Linked DNA regions of Homo sapiens: regions 1 and 2 are each linked to region 3. Evidence: promoter capture Hi-C in 16 types of primary human blood cells and fetal thymus (Javierre and others, 2016). All regions are on one chromosome and are shown on one strand. Each heading gives the region's core, a stretch centred on a gene start or on the middle of the fragment in contact. The rest is flanking DNA. Distances are from core to core; before and after follow the strand shown.

The links. The method cuts DNA at HindIII sites, captures the fragments that hold promoters and counts their contacts. A CHiCAGO score of 5 or more calls a contact.
Region 1: a fragment that was not itself captured here is called in contact with the fragment with the promoter of CALU in region 3 in 1 of 17 cell types (M1 macrophages); the score reaches 5.2 in M1 macrophages.
Region 2: a contact is called between a fragment that was not itself captured here and the fragment with the promoter of CALU in region 3, in 1 of 17 cell types (fetal thymus). The highest score is 5.2, in fetal thymus.

Annotation. Positions count from the first base shown.
Region 1 is chr7:129,136,163-129,140,016 of GRCh38, reverse strand. No RefSeq gene overlaps it. Among named protein-coding and RNA genes, the nearest start is that of TSPAN33, 6.6 kb to the left of the region's middle. RefSeq lists an enhancer at 2,740-2,789. The HindIII fragment of the contact is 420 bases long and covers 2,153-2,572 here.
Region 2 is chr7:128,450,731-128,454,908 of GRCh38, reverse strand. No RefSeq gene overlaps it. Among named protein-coding and RNA genes, the nearest start is that of HILPDA, 3.1 kb to the left of the region's middle. RefSeq lists an enhancer at 297-1,003. The HindIII fragment of the contact is 1,532 bases long and covers 1,253-2,784 here.
Region 3 is chr7:128,736,642-128,740,775 of GRCh38, reverse strand. CALU (calumenin) reads right to left here and starts at 1,417. Exons shown (of 7, transcript NM_001219.5): 1 at 1,344-1,417. RefSeq lists an enhancer at 1,081-1,180 and silencers at 1,461-1,600, 1,671-1,810. The HindIII fragment of the contact is 2,171 bases long and covers 716-2,886 here.

The sequences.
Region 1 (3,854 bases), core at 1,113-3,612, 400 kb before region 3:
AGTTTTCCTTCTTTTTTTTTTTTTTTTTGTATTTTAACTTTTCATTGACATGTAATATATCTACAAAATGCAGCATTCTCTTTTATGTACGTGCTTTTTTTTTTTTTTTTTTTTTTTTTGAGAGGGAGTCTCGCTCTGTCGCCCAGGCTGGAGTGCAGTGGCGTCATCTCGGCTCACTGCAAGCTCCGCCTCCTGGGTTCACACCATTCTCCTGTCTCAGCCTCCCGAGTAGCCGGGACTACAGTTACCTGCCACCATGCCCGGCTAATTTTGTTTTTGTATTTTTAGTAGAGACAGGGTTTCACCGTGTTAGCCAGGATGGTCTCGATCTCCTGACCTCGTGATCCTCCCGCCTCAGCCTCCCAAAGTGCTGGGATTATAGGCATAAGCCATTGAGTCCGACCTTATGTGCTTCTTTCTATCTTTTATATATGTCCTTTTAAAATCTGAGATCAGTACAAAACTATATGTCCAGAGCCATCACAATTTTGTAAAATAAAAAGAATTATATATTTTAAAACACAATGTTGTATACCATAAATATATATAATTTTTGTGTCAATAAAAAATAAAGAAAATAATTGGTTTATAAATGTATAGAAGGAAAGGCATCATAATATAAATAATGATTATCTCTGCGTGGTAGGATATTTGTTGCTCTCTATTTGTGTTACTTTTCCTTTTCCCCAGATTTTCTTTAGTGAATATGTTTTATTTTTATTTTTTTGAATATGTTTTATTTTTATTGGCAAGAAAAATTTTTGTAGTTCTTGTTTTCTCTTTTGGTTAGAAATGTTTTCAAATGCACAGAAAAGTAGAAATCCAGAAACATCTACAGTATTCCCATTACCAAATTTTCCCATTTTCTCATGTTTCCTTCTTCCATTTTTGAGCTATCATGTCATTTAACCCATTAATTTCACTTTCATATCTAAAAATAATGACTTTTTATATAACTATGATAATGTTATCATTCCTGATAAGTTTAACAATAATTTCCTAATATAATTTTGTGCCCAGTTCATACTTAAATTTCCCCAATTGACCCCAGAATATCTTACAGCTGGTTTGTTCAAACCAGGATTTAATCAAGAACTAGTCATTGCACTTGGTATTATGTGGGGTTCTTTTTGAGAAACCTGACGTAATTAGAACTTCATAAGCAACATAATGTTTCATGAAGAAGGTGGCATTTGAAATCTGAGTCCTCAAGGATATGTCAGAATCGACATGGGTAGAGAAGTGAGGTCACTTTAGGAGCAGAGATCAAAGTGAGCAAATTCAGAGAGACAGAAAGGGGGCAGGTGTGTTTGGCTAGTGGCAAGTAGCCCCATGTATTTGGATCAAAGGGGAGAGAATAAGGTGGGATACAATTAGTAAAATAAATTAGAAACAGATCATGGAGGGCCTTGAGGATTGTTTCCAGTTCCAGTTCACTCTGTAGACAACTTGAGATTTCTAGTGAGCCCCGGTGATAACAACCCATCAGTCCATAATGCCTGTAGGACTCTGCCCGTGTTGCATTAGTATGTGTACCCCTGGCACCTAGCAGAGCATGGGACACAGGATGTATTCAGTGTTGAAAACATGGTGCTCGGCTAGGTGCGGTGGCTCACGCCTGTAATCCTAGCACTTTGGGAGGCTGAGGTAGGTGGATCACCTGAGGTCAGGAGTTCAAGACCAGCCAGACCAACATGGCGAAACCCCGTCTCTACTAAAAATCCAAATCTAGCCAGGTGTGATGGTGTGCCTGTAGTCCCAGCTACTTGGGAGGCTGAGGCAGGAGAATCGCTTGTACCCGGGAGGTGGAGGTTGCAGTGAGCTGAGATCGCGCCACTGCACTCCAGCCTGGGCAACAGAGCAAGACTCTATTTTAAAAGAAAAGAAAAAAAAAAAAAAGAAAACATGGTGCTGTTGAAGGATTTTTAGTTGGAGACTGACGTGTCAAAATCTCCTTTGGGAAGATTTAAAAAATTAGGTGGTAATGATGGTGACTAGAATAAGAATTTAGAGAAGAGAACTAGCAGAATGGGTTGCAGTAATTGAAGAGGAGGTGAGGCTTGGTTTCCCCAGATGGGGACACAGCCTAAGCAAAGATGAGCGGTTGGGAATGAGTTCAGGGTGGCATAATGACTACAGAGGAGAAAAAGCTTTGTGGTGTTTTGAGAAATAAGACTCCAAAAGATAGGGTCACGATAGTTTAGGGGGTCTAATATTGGTCATTTGCCTCTGTTGTTACTTAATAAATGACCTCTGATCATATTCAAATTCAAGATTTGGGGTTTTAAAAATTGTTTCTACTTATTTTTTTTTCATATAAGAATCACTTTTAGTTCAATAAGAAAGACAAAATTAGATAAGAGTATTCTGAGTCTAAAAAGAATTAATAACTCAGGAGAGCCTAAACTAAGGGAATATTAAATCAGAAGTATATTGGATTGTGTTTACTTCAAATGTATTAGACAATTAGAATACGACACTGAGCACAATTGCATATGTGAAATGGGACTGTGATTGGCAGTGCTCAAAAAAGGAAGGGGGTAGGGATAGCATGACACATTTAGAGGAAGCTTAGCAAGTTTAGTTAAAATAAACTTAATAAAGAAAGCGGAACATTTGCTTCAACCTCACAGGAAATTGTGTGCTCTTATTGAAGCTTGACAGTTTGTTTCCTCTTCAAAAAGAGTTTGGACCCTTCTTGATGATAATCAAGTTAAGTTGGTAGGTGTGGGGATTGGTGTTAAACTAAAAAGGAAAAAAAAAAACTAGTTACATTTACCTTGCTGTCCAGTAAATGATTCAAACTTGTTTGAATTATTTATTGGTGGTTCTTAAGATTTTCTGAGCTCAGGGATTGTTTGGTGAGTTTGTTGAAAGAGCAGATTTCCAGGCCCTAGCCCCAGTGATTCTGATTCTCGGTTGAGAGGTTAGGTTGAGCAAACAAGCACACTGAAAATTTACCTTCTCTAACAAGCAGCCTGTGTAATTCTGATGTGGATCATCTATGGACAATACTTTTGAAAAACATCTCTAAAGGATCTAGTATCTTTCCTTAGGTAAGCATAGGGCTTGCACAATTAAAAAATAAGTTCTAGTTTAAATTTTTTTTTGTTTTGCTTTATTTTGCTTTTTTGAGACAGGTCTCACTCTGTCGCCCTGCCTGGAGTGCAGTGGCACAATCTTGACTCACTACAACCTCTTCCTTCCAGGCTCAAGCAATCCTCCTGCCTCAGCCTCCTAAGTAGCTGGGACTACAGGCACATACCACCATGCCCAGCTGAATATATATATATGTATATATACACACACATATATATACACACACATATATAAATATACCATATATATAACACATATATAATATAAAAATATATATTATATATATATATTTTTTTGGGGGGGTGGGGGGGTAGAGATGGAGTTTTGCCATGTTGCCCAGGCTGGTCTTGAACTCCTGGGCTCAAGCAATCGGCACCCTCTAAGGCTCCCAAAGTGCTGGGATTACAGGTGTGAGCCACTGCACCTGGCCAATCTTTTTTTTTTTTTTTCTTTTTTAAAAAAAGCTTGTTAGGACTATGTTCAGCTGCAAGTAACAGAAAAACAACCAACCATGGCTTAAACAAGTTTTGTTTTGTTTTTATTTGCTTTTTGTCTCAGGCAACAAGAAGTCTGGGGACAGACTGTTCAGGGCTGATCCTTTGCACTCAAAGACTTACTAAAGTCCTCAAGGAGCCAGGAGCCAGGCTCCTTCTATTTTTCTGCTACCCCATCTTAGGGAGCAAACTTCATTCTCATGGTCACAAGGTAGCTGCTGCACATCCAAACATCACACTCACATTCCAGGCAAGGAAAGA
Region 2 (4,178 bases), core at 769-3,268, 290 kb after region 3:
CCTTACTAATCACCCCCGAACCCACCCAGCCAAGACTGTGCGGTCTGTCTTGAGAGCACGCAACGGGGGATCTCAGAAAGTAGAGTCCCGGAGAGACACTGGGAATGGGGAGGACCCCCGGGAAGGGGTGTACACGCCGTGGAAGGGAAGGCCGCTGGTGGCTTTAGAACTGGCGGTTCCGTGTACCCGGGTCAAGTGCCCGTGCCGGATGGGAAAGAACCCTGTGACTTTCCACATCTCAGCGAGCTCGGCGGGCTCTGCTTAAGAAGGGCTCTAAGACGGGAAGGGAGGAGCCATCCCCACTGCGACCTTTCCCCTCCTTTCCTGGCTGGCTGGCTGTGGTCTGTCGGGAATGAGGGGGTGGGGAAGCCGGGAAAGCAGAAGGTTGGGGCTGGAGGTCTGCTGGCAGGCAGGCAGACATTTGGAGCCAACTTTCCTGCTCAGCCCGCAGAACTTTTGGTCCTTCGCTATACCAGAGTTTCGTCTGTTTTTTTGCTTGACTGTGTGACCCTTCTCTCACACTGTTATTAAATAGGTCTCAAGCTGCGAAATCACTGCCAGATCCAAACGCCACTACTTTGCCAGGTGAAGGCCTTGGGCGAACCCTTTAACCTTCTTGTAGTTCTGTTTCCTCAGCTGTTCTGTGAGATCATAACAGTCTTAACCTGATATTAAATGAATTAATCCATATAAAGCGCTTAGAACAATGCCTGGCACATAAAAAACATTCTATGAATCTTAACATTATCTGTATCATCAACTACAAAACTCCCAGTGAGGGGTTTTGCTCATTAGCAGCCTAGGCTTGCTGAATGAATGCAGGAATTCTACAATGACCATTTGAGTTCTACTTAGTTTGAGTTCTAAATTTATACTTCACACAGCTGGAAGAAGGGATGGGCACCTCTCCAACAATTCTTTCTCCCCATATTCCCTGCCATTGTCTAAAGGTCATGCCAGTTGGAAATAAGAAGGGTTTGGGTGAGGGCAGCTCTATGCTTTACCATTCTGTCAGCTACAAATGTAGCTACCTGCATCAGGATTTAGTCCTGCCTTCAACACCTTGGCCAGGCTAACTGACCCCTTTGAACTTTAGTTTCCTTATCTGTAAAATGAGGAAAATAATCTGTAAAACAGGGTTGTTGTGAGGGTTGGAAATAATGCCCATAAAGAGTATGTCATATATGCTCAACAAATAGTAGCTATTATTTTGCTAAAAAGTATAAAGCCAGATTCTTGTTCTAAATAAGCTTGTCACCTGGTTGAGTAAACAAGACCTGAATAAGATAAGATAACTAACAACCCAAGGCAGTGTGGGGTAGAGTTTAGAAGTAAGTACATAAGTAGGGTGGTAATGTTTTGCTTGGGGAACTGGGATTTTAACATTCACTATGGTTATTTAAAAAAAAAAAAAAAAAAGAGCTGGGCATGGTGGCTCACACCTGTAATCCCAGCACTTTGAGAGGCTGAGGCGGGCAGATCACCTGAGGTCAGGAGTTCGAGACCAGCCTGACCAACATGGACCAACATTCTCTACTAAAAATACAAAATTAGCCAGGCATGGTGGCGCATGCCTTTAATCCCAACTACTTGGGAGGCCGAGGCAGGAGAATCACCTGAACCTGGCAGGCAGAGGTTGCACTGAGCTGCGATCAGACCATTGCACTCCAGCCTGGGCAACAAGAGGGAAACTCCATCTCAAAAAAAAAAAAAAGAAGAAAGAAAGAGTGGAAACAAAATAAGCATTCTTCAAGTAACTGATACGTGCTGAACATTTTGCTAAATGCATTACATGTATTATTTAATTTTTCTAACGATGCTATGAGGTAGGTATTATTGCCTCTCTTCTTTATTTGTTGTTGTTGTTGAGAAAGGGTCTCACTTTGTTTTCCAGGCTGGAGTACAGTGGCACGATCACTGCTCACTGCAGCCTTGACTTTCTGGGCTCAAGCTATCCTACCACCTCAGCCTCCTAAGTAGCTGGGACTACAGTTACACACCACCACACCCAGCTAATTCTTTCTTTTTTCTTTCTTTGCCACCACCACACCAGCTAATTCTTTTCTTTTCTTTTCCTTTTCTTTCCTTTCTTTCTTTCTTTCTTTTTCTTTCTTTCTTTCTCTTTCTTTCTTTCTTTCTTTTTCTTTCTTTCTCCCTTTCTTCCCTTTCTTTCCTTTCTTTTCTTGCTTTTCTTTCTTTTTTTTTTGTAGAGATGGGGTCTCTCTATGCTGCCCTGACTGGTCTCAAACTCCTGACCTCAAGTGATCCACGTGCCTCAGCCTCACAAAGTGCTGGGATTACAGGTGTGAGCCACCATACCCAGCCTTCTTTATTTGTTAACTATGCTTTTTCTTCCAGAGGAAGAAGAGACTTTCTTCACCTAGTCTTTTACTCATCTTTCATATCTCAATTCAAACATATTTCCTCTGGTCACCCTTGCTGACCCTCGGACCCTGTTCCGGGCTCCAGTGGCATGATAGGCATTTCTTTCCCAGTGTGTTACTTTACCCTTAGTTGTATTAATGTCTGTGTCCTTTCAAAAGCCTGAAAATGTCAGTGAAAGGAGTGTTTGGTCTGATTTTGTTTCCATTCCATCTCCAGCAGCTAGCACCAAATAGTAGGCTTTTGATAAATATTTGTTGACTGAAGGAATAAATGAATGAATATTTTACCCAGCATCTTCAGTGAGTACCCATTGTTTCATCAAGGAAATGTAGATAAGGGCGCCAAGAGAAGCCGTTTTCAGGTGCTACCTCCTCCTTGGAGCTGCAACCAAGGAAAGCTTTTTATAAGCTGCCCTTCCCCCAAAGCCCCTAAAAAGAAGTGATTCTGAAGTCAACCCACACAAGAGTACCATACTAAGAACACAAGTATTTTCACAAATTTGATCTTATCATCAAGTGTTCATTTAAATAACATGTACTTACATTTCTGGTAAGTATAAACTGGTACATTCAGTATGGAAATCAATTTGTCAGTAATTGTTACCCTGACCCCCACTTGTTTTTTAAACACCTCAAGACCATTGAGGTGTTAAAAAAGACCACTGACTACCATTTGGCAATGTCTATAAAAATAAAAGCATACACATGCCCTTTAGCCCAGAATTCCACTTTTAGGATTTATCCTTCCACATGTAGAGAATGGAGTGTTTAAAGGTAGCACTGTTGCAGCACTGTTTGTGATAATGAAAGACTGGAAAAAACAGCCCATCAGTAGAGAACTGGTTAAATAAAAGATGGTGCATTCAGACAGTGAATTACCATAAAGCCAGAAAAAAGAGAGTAAGTTCTGTATATATCGACAAGATCTCCACAATATATTGTTAAATGAAAAGGGTTTATAGTATGTGAGCAGTATGCTACATTTATGTTAAAATGAACATAAAAAATAGAATACAATGAGACACCACCTCACACTCACTAGGATGGCTATAACACAAACAAGCAAAAAAACCCAGAAAAGAACAAATGTTGATGAAAATGTAGAAAAAACAGAACCCTCATACATTGCTGTTAGAATGTAAAATAGTGCAGCTGCTTTAGAATAGTTCCTCAAAAAGTTAAACATAGAGTTACTGTATGATCCAGCAGTTTAGCTCCTAAATATATACCCAAGTGAACCGAAGATGTATGTTCACACACAAACGCTTATACACAAATGTTCATAGCAGCATTATTCATAATAGCCAAAAAAGTAGAAACAACCCAAATGTCCGTCAACTGGCTAAAGGATAAACAAAATGTGATACAATGGAATATTATTCAGCCATAAAAAATGAAGTATTGATACATGCTACAATATGGATGCACCTTGAACACATTATGCTAAGTGAAAGAAACCAGAAACAAAAGGGTACATATCGTATGATTCCATTTATATGAAATGTCAGAATAGGCAAATCCAGGGCTGGGCGTAGTGGCTCCCACCTGTAAGCCCAGCACTTTGAGGATCCCAGCACAGAGACCAAGGTGGGCAGATCACTGGAGGTCAGGAGTTTGAGACCAGCCTGGCCAACATGGTGAAACCCTGTCTCTACCAAAAAGACAAAATTAGCCAGGCATGGTGGTGCTGACCTGTAGTCCCACCTACCTGGGAGGCTGAGACAGGAAAATCGCTTGAACCCAGGAGGCAGAGGTTGCAGTGAGCCGAGATCACACCACTGCACTCCAGCCTGG
Region 3 (4,134 bases), core at 168-2,667:
ATGAGTTGGTTTCAAAGCTATATTGAGTACTATTCACTCAGGCATACTCAATACATTTTTGTGAGCTCATGGCTTTCCTACTTGTGATTCTCAAAAGAATCCTATTGGAACCCCCCCACCCCCCAATCACAGTAAAACCTCAGATTAGGTCTTGGCAAACTCATTTTCTTGACAAATACAACTTAGAGGTTATATCTGGTCCCTCATTTGGATTATACTATATAAATTCTTCAGTGATTACTGTCGTTTGGTATTTGGTTAATTAAATCTACTGAGTGAGGTCAAACTTGCATTTGTCTTGTGTCAAGTTCCATTCTATGGCAGACTAATTTAACAGAGATTCCAAGGTTCTCTGCCTCCAAGCTGAATAAGCTACTAGAACAAAAAACAACTAGAAGCCACCTTATTCCCAATTCATTAACGTTGACTTCATGGTCCACACCAGAAAATGAACGCAACTCAATTCTCGAAGACACTATTCTAGAATTTTATACACTTAGGAATTCAGATCACAGGCTCAAAAGTTTTAGCAGGAGACCCACGGAGCTTGGGCCTTGATGCAAAAGCAGCTTTTGAAACTGCAAGCCACTCTACGCTTAATCGCGGCAGCTATAGGGAATTAAGTTTATTTCTGACCGCAGCATGCTAAAAATCAGTAGGATATGGGGCTAGAAGCAACAAAAAACGTAACAAAAATTAATTCCCCAATAAAGCTTTAAAAACTATTTTCCGTCGCTAACTGAAGTACGTAGCCAAATATGGAAGCTCTAAACATTCAGCTTTTCTTTAAAATCATAGATATCACCTAGTGTCGTCACTCGTTCTCTCCCCCCTTGTTTCTGCACCCTTTAGGTGAGTGAACACGACCTTGGCAGATGCACCCTACTGTCGGGATGTGGCCTTGGGGCGGAGCTGGCAGATACAAGCAGGATGGTGAGTGGAGGCGGCAAGGAACTCTTACAATAACACTATCCAAATGCCCTCCGACCTTCCGGAGGCAAAAAATGACCCTCTGGTGCCAGAGACTCGGTGAGTGGCGTGACCTAGAGATGGAGGACCAGGACGCAGCAAACCAGGCACAGAACAGTACCCAACGGGACAGAGTTCCACCGGACCAGCCCCCTTCCCAGAGCGCGCGGTAAGACGGGCGGCGGCCTCCATCCCAGGCTGCACACAGAGGGTCCCGGGATCTCCAGCAGCATCAGGCCTGGGACCCGGGCGCCAGCAGAGACAGCGGCACCGAGTGAGGCAGTCCCCTGCCGCGCCAAGAACAAGACCGGGGACAGAAAGAAAGCGAATAAAGATGAGGCAGTGGTGAAGGGGCTGGGCATCACCGTACTTACCTTTCCTCGTAGCCCCCACAGCACAGGATGCCGTGGCCGCCGCTCACCCACCGGCTCAGCTCACGCGCGCAAGCACCGCCCAACCGGAAGCGGGTCCGCACCCCGCCCTCATCCGCCTCGCCGGCGGCCTCCCGACCAATCATCAGCAAACCCGCCGCTGTCGCATAGCGTCCCCGAGTAGCCATTGGTCTAACAATCGCATAGCCGGGATTGGCTGGAAAGCGCCACGTCCCCGGGACCGCGCCGAGTTGCGTGGAGCGGATTCCCGCCCAACTCTCGTCCCCGGGATTGTTGGGACGGCGGGCTCCAGCCCCAGCCCCAGCCCCAGCCCCGTACTGCGGGTGGCGTGGGCGCGGCCGTGTGGCCGCCACGTCCCCATTCACAGCTCATGACTCTGCTTCCACAGGGCTTCTTAGACTATCCTGCTAGTTATCTTCATTCCCACAAGACCACCAGGGCGGAATTAATCCGACTGAATCAGTCACCAACTTTATTGAACAATCCCAACTTTTTCTTTCCCTTCAGCGCTGCGCCCTGCGCTATCTACAGGAGGCTCTTCAGTCTTTGGCACCAGTGTATCTTTTAGCTCCATCTCCCAACACTCCCCCTCATCTTGCGCTCTGGGCACCATCATCTGTTTCCTAACAACCGGTCCTTTTTCATCTCTTAAGATTTTTGATCAAGAGGCTTCCTCTGCCAGGAATAAGTGCGTTTTCCTGATTTTCTGCCTTGCCAATAGAAGTCCCAGTTCAGATGTTAGCTCTAGAAGCCTTCCCTGACCTCACTAAGCATAATTCTTACCTTATTTACCATCATAGCTGTTTATAGCTTCAGTACACTTTGCCAAATTCTGCTATAAAATGTAGCTTATCCATCTGTCCTCTTCTAGAGTAAGCTCCTGGGTAGGTATCTGTCTATTCATCTTTATATCTGCAACTCTGAGCTTACTGCCCAGCTCAGTAATGTTAAGTGAAGGGAATGGGCCGAACCCGTTGCATGTCCCTGAAAATTTAATTTCATGTCATGAAATTAAAACAAATATCAAATAAAGGCTACTATAGCTTCAACACAAATGGAATGTAAACCTGTGGCATTCTTAGCACATAAAGCCTCTGTAGTTTAAAATCAAATTGAGACAAGTTGTAAACTCATGAAACAGTTAAGCTCATGAAAGCAAGCTAGTTACTGTCAACGTGAAAGGTTTACAACTAATCCTTCTGGCATTCAAAGGAGTGTCAGTGACCCTTGGTGGTAGTCAGGGAAGGCTTCAGAGGAAGATATGACTAAGGCTGGACTAAGGAAGTCCCAAATGGACTATTCAGCAAGAAGAGTAATAGGAATAAGGACAAGTGGAGGGCAGAGTGGGAGGTAAATTCTCAGGCCAGGTAGCAAATGAGGAAGGTTAAAAAAAGGGGTGGGGGGAAACAATGAAAGAAAAGCATGGATAGTAAGTTTGGAGAGGTAATGGAAGATCTTGTCAATTTGAGGAACCTGAACTGAAGACAGTGGGAACTGTGGGTCTTCCTGGGAAAGTTTCTAAGCTTGTGCCTACAGGGAAGCCATCTAATGGGTATTAACAATAAAACAGGCTACCTCAGGAGGCATTATTTCGAAAACAGTTTTTAAAATACCTCCTTAAGGATCACTTGAGGCCAGGAGTTTGAGACCAGCCTGGGCAAAATAACGAGACCCTTCCTCCCCCTATCTCTACAAAAAAACAAAAACTAAAAATTAGCTGGGTGTGGTGGCACACACATGTAGTTCAAGCTAGTTGCTTGAGCCCAGGAGGTTGAGGCTGCAATGAACTATGACTGTACCACTTCACTCCAGCCTGGGCAACAGAGCAAGACCCTTTCTCTTAAAAAATAAAAATAACAACTCCTTAAGGTCAGGCACTGTGTTATGTGCTGGTGAACCCAAAGTAAACAGGACATCGTCCCTGTCCTCAAGGAACTCAGCTTAATGGTGCGCCATCCATCCTGGAATTGTCCTAGTAAAGGCTAAACAGGTAGTGAGGGTGCCAGAGATAGGGCCCTCCAACCCTGAGGTTCCCTAATGGAGAAGGGCCTGGCCTAGCAAGGGAAAGGGAAATGGAAATGAACCTTTATATACAAGAGTTTTTTTGTTTGTTTGTTTTGTTTTGTTTTTCTTTTTTTTTGAGATGGAGTTTTGCTTTTGTCGCCCAGGCTGTAGTGCAATGGTGCGACCTTGGCTCACTGCACCTCCGCCTCCTAGGTTCAAGTGATTCTCCTGCCTCAGCCTCCCAAGTAACTGGGATTACAGGCATGTGCCACCACGCCTGGCTAATTTTTGTATTTTTAGTAGAGACAAGGTTTCACCATGTTGGTCAGGCCAATGTCGAACTCCTGACCTCTAGTGATCCGCCTGCCTCGGCCTCCCAAAGTGCTGGGATTACAGGCATGAGCCACGGTGCCCAGCCACAAGAGAGATTTTAAAAGTGGAAATAAGTCCTGAGCTTAGTGACCACTCGAATGAAAGAAATGAAGAAGGAGCACTCAAAAGTTAAAAGGTTTAATCATGGGAGACTAGGAGAATGAGCTAGGTGCATGGAATGAGGGAAGTCAATTGAGTTCAAGACATAGGAAGTCTATGTGATGGCGGAATAGCCAAAGAGAAAGAGCCAAGAGCCTGGAGGAGATATTTGGGAGGGGTTGTTGGCTAGCAGATGGCTGATGGAGCCATGAGAACAGATAAACTTTTTGAGGAGACGAAAGCAGATTAGGCCTCATGGGAGCCCCAGAGTTAGAAAGTAGGTGGAGGAAGGAAGAAA